Regions from separate parts of the Homo sapiens genome. Here region 2 is linked to region 1. The links are contacts of gene promoters, found by promoter capture Hi-C in blood cells and fetal thymus (Javierre and others, 2016). All regions are on one chromosome and are shown on one strand. Each heading gives the region's core, a stretch centred on a gene start or on the middle of the fragment in contact. The rest is flanking DNA. Distances are from core to core; before and after follow the strand shown. Region 1 holds the start of PGAM2 (phosphoglycerate mutase 2). Region 2 overlaps CAMK2B (calcium/calmodulin dependent protein kinase II beta).

Region 1 (5,323 bases), core at 1,779-4,278:
CATGTTAAGATTTTCCTGGTTTTCATACACTGGGTTATTTTGGATAACCTGGATATTTTAAATATTATGTTGAGACTCTGGACCTTGTTTAAATCCTAAGCAGAATGTTGACTGTTTAAAGTGTTTGCACTACTAGTCATATTAGTCCTGTATCTACACCGGTCAGTCTGGGACCTGCAATGTGCATCTAGGGTCAGCCCTGTGCGCAGCTTGGCAGCAAGCCAATGACTTCACATATCACTTTATCGGATCACTCACTTCATCTCTCCCTTCTCTGTACTCTCCCTGAAACACAACAGCTCCCTGCAACATCCCTACCAAGACCTCCAGCCACAAATCTGGGGCTCTTTCCCTACCTACCCTGCTGCATACTCCCTGAAACTGCATCCAGGGCCCAGCGCAGGGGGGCAGAAAGGAGCTGCAGAAGGTGGTTGCCCCATGCTTTTGGGGCCATGGCTCCTCTAGACAGAGGGTAGCGTTACCCTCTCAGGTTTCAAGTGCGTACCCAGCTCACACTACCGTCACTGTGCCACCACTGCCACCTCCATGTTACTGCCCAGGAGCTGGGGTAGAGAAGAAAAGAAAAATTGGAGGGATTCCCCCAACTCACTGACTTCGAGGGGCTTCACATCCCACTCCTCTGATTCTTCCTGGAGCTCTTTCTGTTGGTGCACTTGAGGTTTCAAGCCGCCTGTGTGTCCAGGCTAGGCAATACTTGTTACCTCACCACTTCTCTGCGGAACTTTGAATCTGATCTCCTTTTCTTATCTGTCTACTGACAGCTGCTCCTGCATCTGTCCAGGATTGGTGGCTGTCAGTGGGAGAGACATGGGAAGATGCTCCCTCCACCTTCCTGGGACCACCTTGTTGACTCAGCAGCCTTCCTCGCCGCCCACCATGCTATGCCTTCCTGGATGGAGGCCCTGAGGGTGGCTTTTGGTTTTCCTACCCCTGTACCCCTCCAAGAAAGCTCTGGCACACTGCAGAGGCCAGCAACTACTTGTCAAATGAATCAAAGGAAAGTCAAGCCGGAGCCAAGGGTCAGAAGCAGGGGCTTGCTTCCCCGAAGTCCAGCCCTTCTTTGGGCTCCCCTTTCCTTTTTGACACCTCCTGCTTGGTTGGCAGTGAGGTCTCCCAGGTCTGGGGGATCCTTGCCACTGCTTCTGCACCCAGCCCTGGCTAAGCGGCCTTGTTCTCATCAAAGCTGCCGAGACCTGCAGGGTACTCAGCTTCTACTTCCACTCCTACACAGCTGCAAGTGACTTGAAAATATGACCATGCTTCAAAGTCTCCAGTGATTCCCACTGTGTTGGGACACAAAGCCCACCTCTCTGCCATGTGCCCCTGATGGTCGCTGCCCCAGCTTGTTTGCTTTCTGTAGGGCTTGGGTCTTTGCCAACCCCTCTACCTGAATTGCTCTCCCTGTAGGACTCATCATAGCTGAGGCCTTTGCACTCCGCTCTTTCCACTCACATGTCACCTCAGGGCTGTCCCCGGCCTCTCCTTTCCCATCTCTCCCAGTACATTATGGTCCTTCCTTCCTAGCATCTGGTGCTATCTACGGTAGGCATGTTTAGCTGCTGGTACGATCCCTCCTCCACTGAAATATGGGCTTCATGTCTGGCCCCTGTGGGACTGCCAGAGCCTGGTCCTCAGTCATGTTTAGTTGGGCTAGTGAATCAACTCTTGGTCAAAGGGACAAAAGCAGATGAGGAGATGTGGCTTCAATCAGGATCAGTGTGGAACAGTGAGACCTGCGCATGGCACTGCTAGGAGGGATGGGTTCCACCTGCCAGCCTTGGGGGTCCTGGCAGCCGACAGGACTTTGCCCACTGGGACTTGTCTGCCAACCTTTGGGTACAGAGCCTTAGCTTCACAGGCCCCAAGCCAGGAGCCCCTCCCCAGGTAGGCCAGCAGGGATGGAGGGAGGCCTGTCGAGGGTTTCTTGCACACTCAGATCCAAGTCTCAGAGTGGTGGTCCCTCTGCTGGCCTCTCACCTACCCGCTCCTGTTATCAGAAGTGTCGCAGGTGACAGTGTGGTCACTGGGGTGGGAGGAAATGGGAGGCCCTGGATGGGGCCCATGCCCAAGGGTCTGGCCATGGCCCCTTCATTAGGGCCCCAATTGTGACTTTATTGCTCATAGTCTCTTCCCTGCCTTGGTGGCTCTCATCCCCCAAACCTGAATGCAGAAGTCTTGGTCCTAGACTCAACTCCGTGCCACCCTTCAGCCTACGTTGTGGGTTCCTGCTAAGCTGAGCATTTACCTAACAATCAAGACTTCTGACAGTCCTCAGTCCTGCCCCCAAACCCCCTTGGATTTCTCTTTTTCAAGGTGGTTTCGGCTAGGAGAGTGAGCGTGGCTTGGGTGAGGGCAGATAGGGTGGGAGCATGGGGCATGTATGGATGAGACCTTGACAAAGGGACCCCGGAGGAAAGACAGGGGCCCTTTCCCCCTTTGTCCTGGAAACCCGGCTCAGCCCCAGCCCTTGCCCATTCTGCTGCTGCTGCCTGGTACCTTCCACAAGGCCAGACTCCTCTCCACAAAGCTGTGGTCTGCACCAGCTCCTCTGGCTCTCCTCCTCTGCCTGCTGAGGGCCGCCTCCTAGCCTGGCTGCCAATCACAGGAGAAAGGGGTTGGGATTTTGTTTGTGCCTCTGTCTGAGCAGAGAATGGCTGATAGGCCACTGAGCGTTGCCCTGGAGAGCCCCTCTGTCCCTGCTATCCCCATCTCCCCTGGCCCAGACTTCTGCCCTTCACGCCCATCCCTGACCAGCAGCCCCACTCAGTCTGGGCTCTGGGTGCCAGCTGGTTATAGACATGCCACCTGAACCCAGGCCAGGAGCTGGTGGATGCGTGGGGCTATTTTAAGCACAGCCTCTTGGCCTGCACACTCCCCTGGCCCCCAGCCCCCAGCAGCTCAGCTACTGGTCACCTGCCACCGCCTGGAATGCTGATTGGCAGTTGGCTGGGGTGGGTGGGGGCTGGGAAGACACTATTATAAAGCTGGGAGTGTTGGGAAGCAGCCGTCCCCGTCCAGAGTCCTCTGTGGTCCCTGCTGCCACCATGGCCACTCACCGCCTCGTGATGGTCCGGCACGGCGAGAGCACATGGAACCAGGAGAACCGTTTCTGTGGCTGGTTCGATGCAGAGCTGAGTGAAAAGGGGACCGAGGAGGCCAAGCGGGGAGCCAAGGCCATCAAGGATGCCAAGATGGAGTTTGACATCTGCTACACGTCAGTGCTGAAGCGGGCCATCCGCACCCTCTGGGCCATCCTGGACGGCACGGACCAGATGTGGCTGCCTGTGGTGCGCACTTGGCGCCTCAATGAGCGGCATTACGGGGGCCTCACAGGCCTCAACAAGGCAGAAACGGCCGCCAAGCACGGGGAGGAGCAGGTGAAGATCTGGAGGCGCTCCTTCGACATCCCGCCGCCCCCGATGGACGAGAAGCACCCCTACTACAACTCCATTAGCAAGGTGGGCTGCCTTTGCTGGGAAGGCCTCTGGGAAGCTGCAGAGTGGGGAGTCGGGTGGGGGCCCACTGGCTTGGGAGGGAAAGCAGCGTGCCTGTGTCCCCCAGGAGCGTCGGTACGCAGGCCTGAAGCCCGGGGAACTCCCCACCTGCGAGAGCCTCAAGGACACCATTGCCCGGGCCCTGCCCTTCTGGAACGAGGAGATTGTTCCCCAGATCAAGGCCGGCAAGCGAGTGCTCATTGCAGCCCACGGGAACAGCCTGCGGGGCATTGTCAAGCACCTGGAAGGTGAGGCCACCTTCAGGAGCCTGGGCAGGGTGGGTGGGCAGCAGCCCCAGCTGGCTTCTCATCTCAGCAAAGTCTCTCGCCCATGGACCAGGCTTTCTAGGCGTGGGGCTCCACATCATTCACTGAAAAAGGAGGGCTGAGAAGCCATTTTTTAGTTTTGTGAAATTTTCCCCATTTCTGTGTAACTGGGACACACTCCACAGGGGCTGACTGCACTCGAAGCTCGCTGTGTCCCGAGGTGGGGCAGGCTCCAAAGGTGGCATCTGCCAAGGGACACCCAGCTAGGAAACGGAAGGGCTGGGCTTAGAGCATCTGGCTCCAAATCCCAACTTACTGTGGGGCCCTGGACAAGCCACCTCCATCTCTGGGCCTCTCCCTTTTCCGGGGTGGTGGGGAGCTCCCCCTGGTACTGAATTCCTCTTGATGTAGGCTTGGACCCCTCGCAGGGCCCTCCCCCATCAGGTCCTCAGAATCCCTGCATGAGCTTCACCACCTATCTCCCTCTGGAGCCCCTCTCTGGGCAAAGGAAAGACCAATCAAAAGAGGGGTGCAGGACTATGGAGTGGCCAGACTCTGGGCTTGCAGCTGGGCTCCCACTGAAGAGCAAGGGCTGACAAATGGGCCCGGGATGCATGGGCGCAGTAAGGCCTCGCCCAGAGTGACTGGCACCTCCGCTCCGCCTCCCACCTTAGTATTCTGACACAAGGGCAGTCTAAATTAGCATCTGAATGACCTTAAAGCTTGTTGAGTCCTGGAAAGGCTAGAAGGGTGTGCCCCAGACCTCCTGCTCCTAGGGCCGTTGGGCAGTTGGCCAGAGCACCCAGACCGGCAGGCCCCGGAGACCCAGCCAGCCCCAAGCCTGCCCGCTCCAAACACGGACACCTGGCACCTGGCACTGGGGCCAGGCAGAGGGAAGGACCACCTGCCTCCTCTCCCTTCCGGAGACTTCATGCAGCCCCATGACCCTCCCACAGCCTGGTTTGGGGAAAGGGGACGCACTTTTGGTGGTGAATATGAGGGATTTCACTCTGACTCCCCAGAGAACATTTTCTTAAACCCTCCTGCACGGAGCAGGGGTGGAGTGGCGCGAACATCAAAGGTCGAGCTGCTATTCCCAGCTCAGGGGCTGCAGGAGGCAGGCAGGGTCAGGTTTCGACCAGGCTCGGCCTCCCTGTCCCTCCTCCAGCTCCATTCCGCACTTGCTCCTCTGTTCAGGATGTCTAGAATTTAGAGCACTTTAGAAACCAAAGGGTGCTGGGCACGGTGGCTCACTCCTGTAATCCCAGCACTTTGGGAGGCTGAGGCAGGCAGATCACCTGAGGTCAGGAGTTTGAGACCAGCCTGACCAACATGGTAAAACCCGTTTCTACTAAAAATACAAAATTAGCCGGGTGTGGTGGCGCTCACCTGTAATCCCAGCTACTTGGGAGGCTGAGGCAGAATCACTTCAACCCAGGAGATGGAGGTTGCAGTGAGCCAAGATCGTGCCACTGCACTCCAGCCTGGGCAAGAGGAGTAAAACTCCATCTCAAAAAAAAGAAAAAGAAAAAGAAAAGAAAA
Region 2 (5,323 bases), core at 992-3,491, 250 kb before region 1:
GTGTGTGTGTACATATATACACATCTACATATATAGCAGATATAGATGATTTCAAAACACAGATGGAATCACCATATATGTGATTCTGCAATCTGTTTGCCCAACACTTTCATGACGACCCCCCGTGTCAGTAAGTCTTTTCTTCAGCTAAGTGCCTTCCAATTCTTAGCAGAGAAATGTGTGCATACGCGTTGGCCACATTTTTTAAACCAAAAATTGGGACCCATCCTCTAGCAAGTGTGATGGGATATATAATAGGATGCTATATTTGAAATCAGGGCCTGAAAGGTCATTAGGAGGGCCCAACTGTTGTGAAGGAAAGCTGTGTTCTCAGCACGACCAGCTGCAGGGGCTGGGCCTGTGGAGGTGGGTGCAAGTGGACTCCTGCCGCGGTCAAAGGCCACAGGACTAAGGATGTCTCAGGTCTCACTTGAAAGAACTGAAGGACCTATTCCCATCTTTCCATCCCCCTTTTCTAGGAATCCCGAAGAGCAGAGGGGAGAGATATGCAATGTTTAGGTTTTGTATCTTCTACTTAAAAATTCTAACAGGGATGTTTCCCTCATTTTTGCTCCATTGGCCTTTAAAGAGTCTATATTGAGCCACCCTAGAATTTAACAGTAATTTACTAGAAGAGACCAGGTGGAGATAAGTGTGCAATGTCTGTCCCTGGGAAGACCACTCCCATTTCCCTGTGTTCCGTGATGCCACCTCCCTCATCCAGGCAAGAGATGTGGCCTTTCTGGAGATTTTAAATATATTTTCAAAAAATTTAATTCTCTCTCTCTTCCCCCACAAAAATTGAATCTGATTTGATTATTTTTAAAGCATCTTTTACAGCTGCAAGTCACTTTGTTAGTGTAGAAACATAAAAATGCATTATGTATCAACTTGGTTTTTAAAAAATTATCATATTGGCATATTACACAGATATGTATATTTTATTCATAGAAAAACTTGAATTTATTTAAAATGAAAACATCCTTTTATGTTAGAGAAAGGTGGTGTTGCTAGCTGCCAAACTTTTGGGTGGCTTTTGTCTCCTGGGTTAGAGGGTCACTTGTTGAGGGCTCAGTTCCTGGTGGACATAGTTCTTTTTGTATTGACATAATTATCCAAAAATAACTTAAGTTATGATTCTTTGTTAAGCCAGACAGAAGCTTTTGTTGAATTCTAGAACAGATTGGCAACAACCAGGCAAAGATTTAAGAAGATTTTATGGGAGGAAGCATAATGGCACACTTGTACAGGGTGGAATTTGGGACCCACAGTCCTTGTTTCCTCACTTTGTGAGCAGCAAGAGAAGCCTGGAGGGCAGGAGCTGCTGTCGCCCTTACAATGAAGTACTGCAGGTGTTATGCCTTTTGCTGTAATGCCCTCTGGGTGTCAAGCACATCCCAGTGAGTGCCGTTTCCAGCAAGGAGCTGAGGAGCCTTGATTCTGTCACCCAACACACCCTGAATTCAAGTGCTGAGAACAGTGCCTGGCACACAGTAGGTGCTCCACAGTGACTCAGCAATGGTCTGGGTCACTCAGGCCTTGCACCTGGGACTGCTTCCCAGAGCAGTGGCACACCCACCCTGTAAAAGATGAGGGCCTTATAAGAGGTATTGGGTGGCTCTGCAGGTAGGTCTTGCGGGTATTCTGATGTCCAGTCTGGGTAGACAGTCTTGTCACCCGGTGAAATGCAGTAGCAGGGCTGTCAGCACTTATATGTCTGTCATGGAGCTTGACTCCAAGAGGCTTGCAGCTTTCAGCTAATTTCTTAATGAGGTTGTTCACATGACTTCTTGTTTGTTGAGGTGCTGCCTGATTCTCAGCGTCTGTGAGTTTGATCCAGGCCATTAGTTAGGGGCTTTCTGGGCAAAGGGTAGGAGTCTGGTTAGGAGCAGGCCCTCCCAAAGAAGATGACCATGTGGTGGTTCTCAACCCCAACCACACATGGGAAGCCCCTGAGGAGTGTTCAGGCCCCATCGCATTTAGCCAGACACTAGGGAAATGGGGTATCAGCAGTTTTTAAAAGCTCCCAGGTGATTCCAATGGGCACTGCATACCTAGACTCTGCAGAGGAGTCTGCACCTGAGGCCAGACACTCGCCTAAGCCCACACTCCTTCATATAACCCTTGGTTCTTTCAGAGCCCACCTAGGCATGAATTTGAAGTTTACCTTCATTTTCTCTACATTCACAATGACATTACTACCCCACCGCCCACCCCATCCAAGTTGTCGAGAGCTGCATTGTCCAGAAGAGATAAAATGTGATACAAAGTTGAGCCATATGTGTGATTAAAAATTTTCTAGTACGTAAAGAAAAAAAAGAAACAGGTGAAAGGAACTTTAAAAATATATTTATTTAACTTTATATCCAAAATATCATTCAGAGGCCTGGTGCGGTGGCTCGTGCCTGTAATCCCAGCACTTTGGGAGGCCAAGGTGGGTGGATCACTTGAGCCCAGGAGTTAGAGACCGTGGGCAACATGGCAAAACCCCATCTGTACAAAAATTAAAAAATCATTTCAACATGTAATCAAAACAGAAATTATTAAGCTATTTTGCATTCCTTTTTGTACTACGTCTTGAAATCTGGTGTGTATTTTACCCTTACGGCACATCTCAGTTTGGACCAGGTTCTTATGACTACATGGTGACAGTGACCACAGTATTGGACAACACAGGGCCAGAGCTTCAAAATCACCATGCTTTTTTTTTTTTTTTTCATTTTTCCTGGTTTCTTTTAAGGATAATAGTTACAGTCATAGCTGTCTTAGTCTGTTCCAGATTTCTTTTGCTCTCCTGAAGACTTATTCATTTATTCAGCAAGTCTGGTTGCCTGTACTTACCATGTGCCATAGGTGCTTGGGAAACAGTAGTGAACAAAGCAGTCAAGGATGCCTGCCCTTAGGGAGCTTATATACTGCTGGATAGAGGCAGGCAATAAACATAAATACTAAAAAAATTATATGATAGGGTAGAAGGTGATTAATACCTCTGAGAATAATTAAGAAGACTCAGGAGTGCTAGTTAGGAGGAAGGTTATTATTATAAAAAGGATGGTAAAGCCAAGAAAAAAGAAGACTCCAATTGCTAAAATCAGGAATGACACAGGGGACCTTACTGCCAACCTTACAGAAAAAAAATTATAAGGAAATAACTATGAATAATTATGTGCCCTCAAGTTAGATAACCTGGATGAAATGGACAAATACTTAGAAAGACACAAACTACTGAATCTGGCTCAAGAAGAAATAGAAAATCTGAATAGACCTATAACAAGTAGAGACTGACTTAGTAATTTAAAATTTTCCCACAAAGGAAAGCTTAGGCTCAGATAATTTCACTGGTAAATCCTACCAAACATTTAAAGAAGAATTAATACCAGTCTTTTACAAGCTCCCCCAAAAAGTAGAAGAGGAGGAAATTCTTTCCAATTCATTCTGTGAAGCCAGCAATACCCTAATACCAAAACCAAAGATATCACAAAACTACAGACTGTTATCACTTATGAATGCAGATGAAGCATCCTCAACAAAACACTAGCAAAATAAATCTAGCAACATATAAAAAGGATTATTTATACATTATGAACAAGTAGGATGTATCCCAAGAATGAAAGGTTCATTCAGCATACAAAAATCAATCTATATAATACACCACGTTGATAGAACAAACATTGAAACTATATGAACCATTTCAATAGATGCAGAAAAAGCATTTAAAAAAAAACCAATACCATTTCATGATAAAAACTCAACAAATGACAAGTAGAAAGGAACTTCCTTAACTTGATAAAATACATTTGTGAAAAATCTGCAGCTAACCTCATATTTAATGGTGGAAAACTGAATGTATCTGCTCTTTCCATTTCTAGGCAGCACGGTATAGGAGATTCTAGCCAGGGCAATTAGGCAAGAAAAAGAGATAGAAGGCTCCCAGATTGGAAATAAATAGTTATAGCTACCTCTCTTTTCAGATTACATGCTTTCGTATATAGAAAATCCTAAGGAATCCATTTAAAAAACTATTAGAACTAAAAAATGAATTTAGCAAAGTTGCAAGATGTAAGACCAATATACAAAAATCCATTGTATTTCAATGGACTAGAAGTTCAAAATAACAAAATTAGGAAAAACAATTTACAATAGCATCTAAAAAATAAAACACTTAATACTAAATTTAATAAAAGAAGTACAAGACTTGTACATTGAAAACCACAAACCACTGTTGAGAGAAATTAAAGAAGACCTAAATTAATGGAAAGACATCCCATGTTCATGGATTGGAATATTTAATATTGTTAAATAGTAGTATACTCCAAATTGACCTACATTTTTGCTATGAAAATTCCAGCTGCGTTTTTTGCAAAAATTGACAACCTGGCCCTAAAATTCACATAGGAATGCAAGAGACCCAAAATAGCTAAAACAATCTTGAAAAAGGAGAACAAAGTCAGAGGACTCACGGGTTCTGATTTCAAAACTAACTACACAGTTACAGCAATCAAGACAGTGTGGTGTTGACATAAGGATAAATACATAGATCAGTGAAATAGGATTGAGAGTGTAGAATAAATCCATACATCTATGTTCAGTTGATTTTTTACAAGGGTGCCAAGACAATTCCAGTGGAGAAGAATAACGGTCCATTCAACAAATGGACAATTGAGTATCCACATGCAGAAGAATGAAGTTGGAGCTGTACTTGACACCATATACAAAAATTATTTCAAAATAAATAATAGATCTAAATGTAGGAGCTAAAATCACAGAATTCTTAGAAGAAAACATAAGAGTAAATCTTTGCAACTTTGTATTAGGCAATGGTTTTTTAGATATGACACCACAAGCATAAACAACGAAAGAAAAATAGTTTTGCTGTTGGGCTTCATTAACAGTGAAAACTTTTGTATTCAAAGGACACCATTGAGAAAGTGGAATAGAATAGTCCATAGAATGGGAGAAAATATTTGCAAACCATCTGTCTGGTAAGGAATTTGTATTCAGAATACTTTAAGAACTTTTACTACCTAACAGTAAGAAGAAACAACCTAATTAAAAAATGGGCAAAGGACTTAGACATTTCTCTAAAATAGGTAACAAATAGCCCACAGCACATGAAAAGATTTTGGCATCATTATGGAAATGCAATTCAAAACCATCATGCGATGCCATTTCACTCTTACTAGGATGGCTACTGTCGAAAAGACAGATAATAGCAAGTGTTGGTGAGGGTGTGAAGTTGGAATGCTCATTCATTGCTGGTGAGGATGTAAAATGGCACAGCTACTATGAAAAATACTTTGGTGGGTCTTCAAAATGTTCTATT

The links. The method cuts DNA at HindIII sites, captures the fragments that hold promoters and counts their contacts. A CHiCAGO score of 5 or more calls a contact.
Region 2: a contact is called between a fragment that was not itself captured here and the fragment with the promoter of PGAM2 in region 1, in 1 of 17 cell types (endothelial precursors). The highest score is 5.5, in endothelial precursors.

Annotation. Positions count from the first base shown.
Region 1 is chr7:44,063,272-44,068,594 of GRCh38, reverse strand. It overlaps PGAM2 (phosphoglycerate mutase 2), which reads left to right and starts at 3,028. Exons shown (of 3, transcript NM_000290.4): 1 at 3,028-3,479; 2 at 3,583-3,763. The coding sequence starts at 3,066. DBNL (drebrin like) reads right to left here. Exons shown (of 13, transcript NM_001014436.3): 13 at 1-5,323. RefSeq lists enhancers at 342-411, 3,262-3,331, 3,392-3,441, 3,632-3,691, 4,336-4,445 and a silencer at 2,012-2,081. The HindIII fragment of the contact is 4,752 bases long and covers 1-4,505 here.
Region 2 is chr7:44,314,643-44,319,965 of GRCh38, reverse strand. All of the region lies in intron 1 of CAMK2B (calcium/calmodulin dependent protein kinase II beta), which reads left to right. Among named protein-coding and RNA genes, the nearest start is that of CAMK2B, 8.3 kb to the left of the region's middle. The HindIII fragment of the contact is 2,158 bases long and covers 1,163-3,320 here.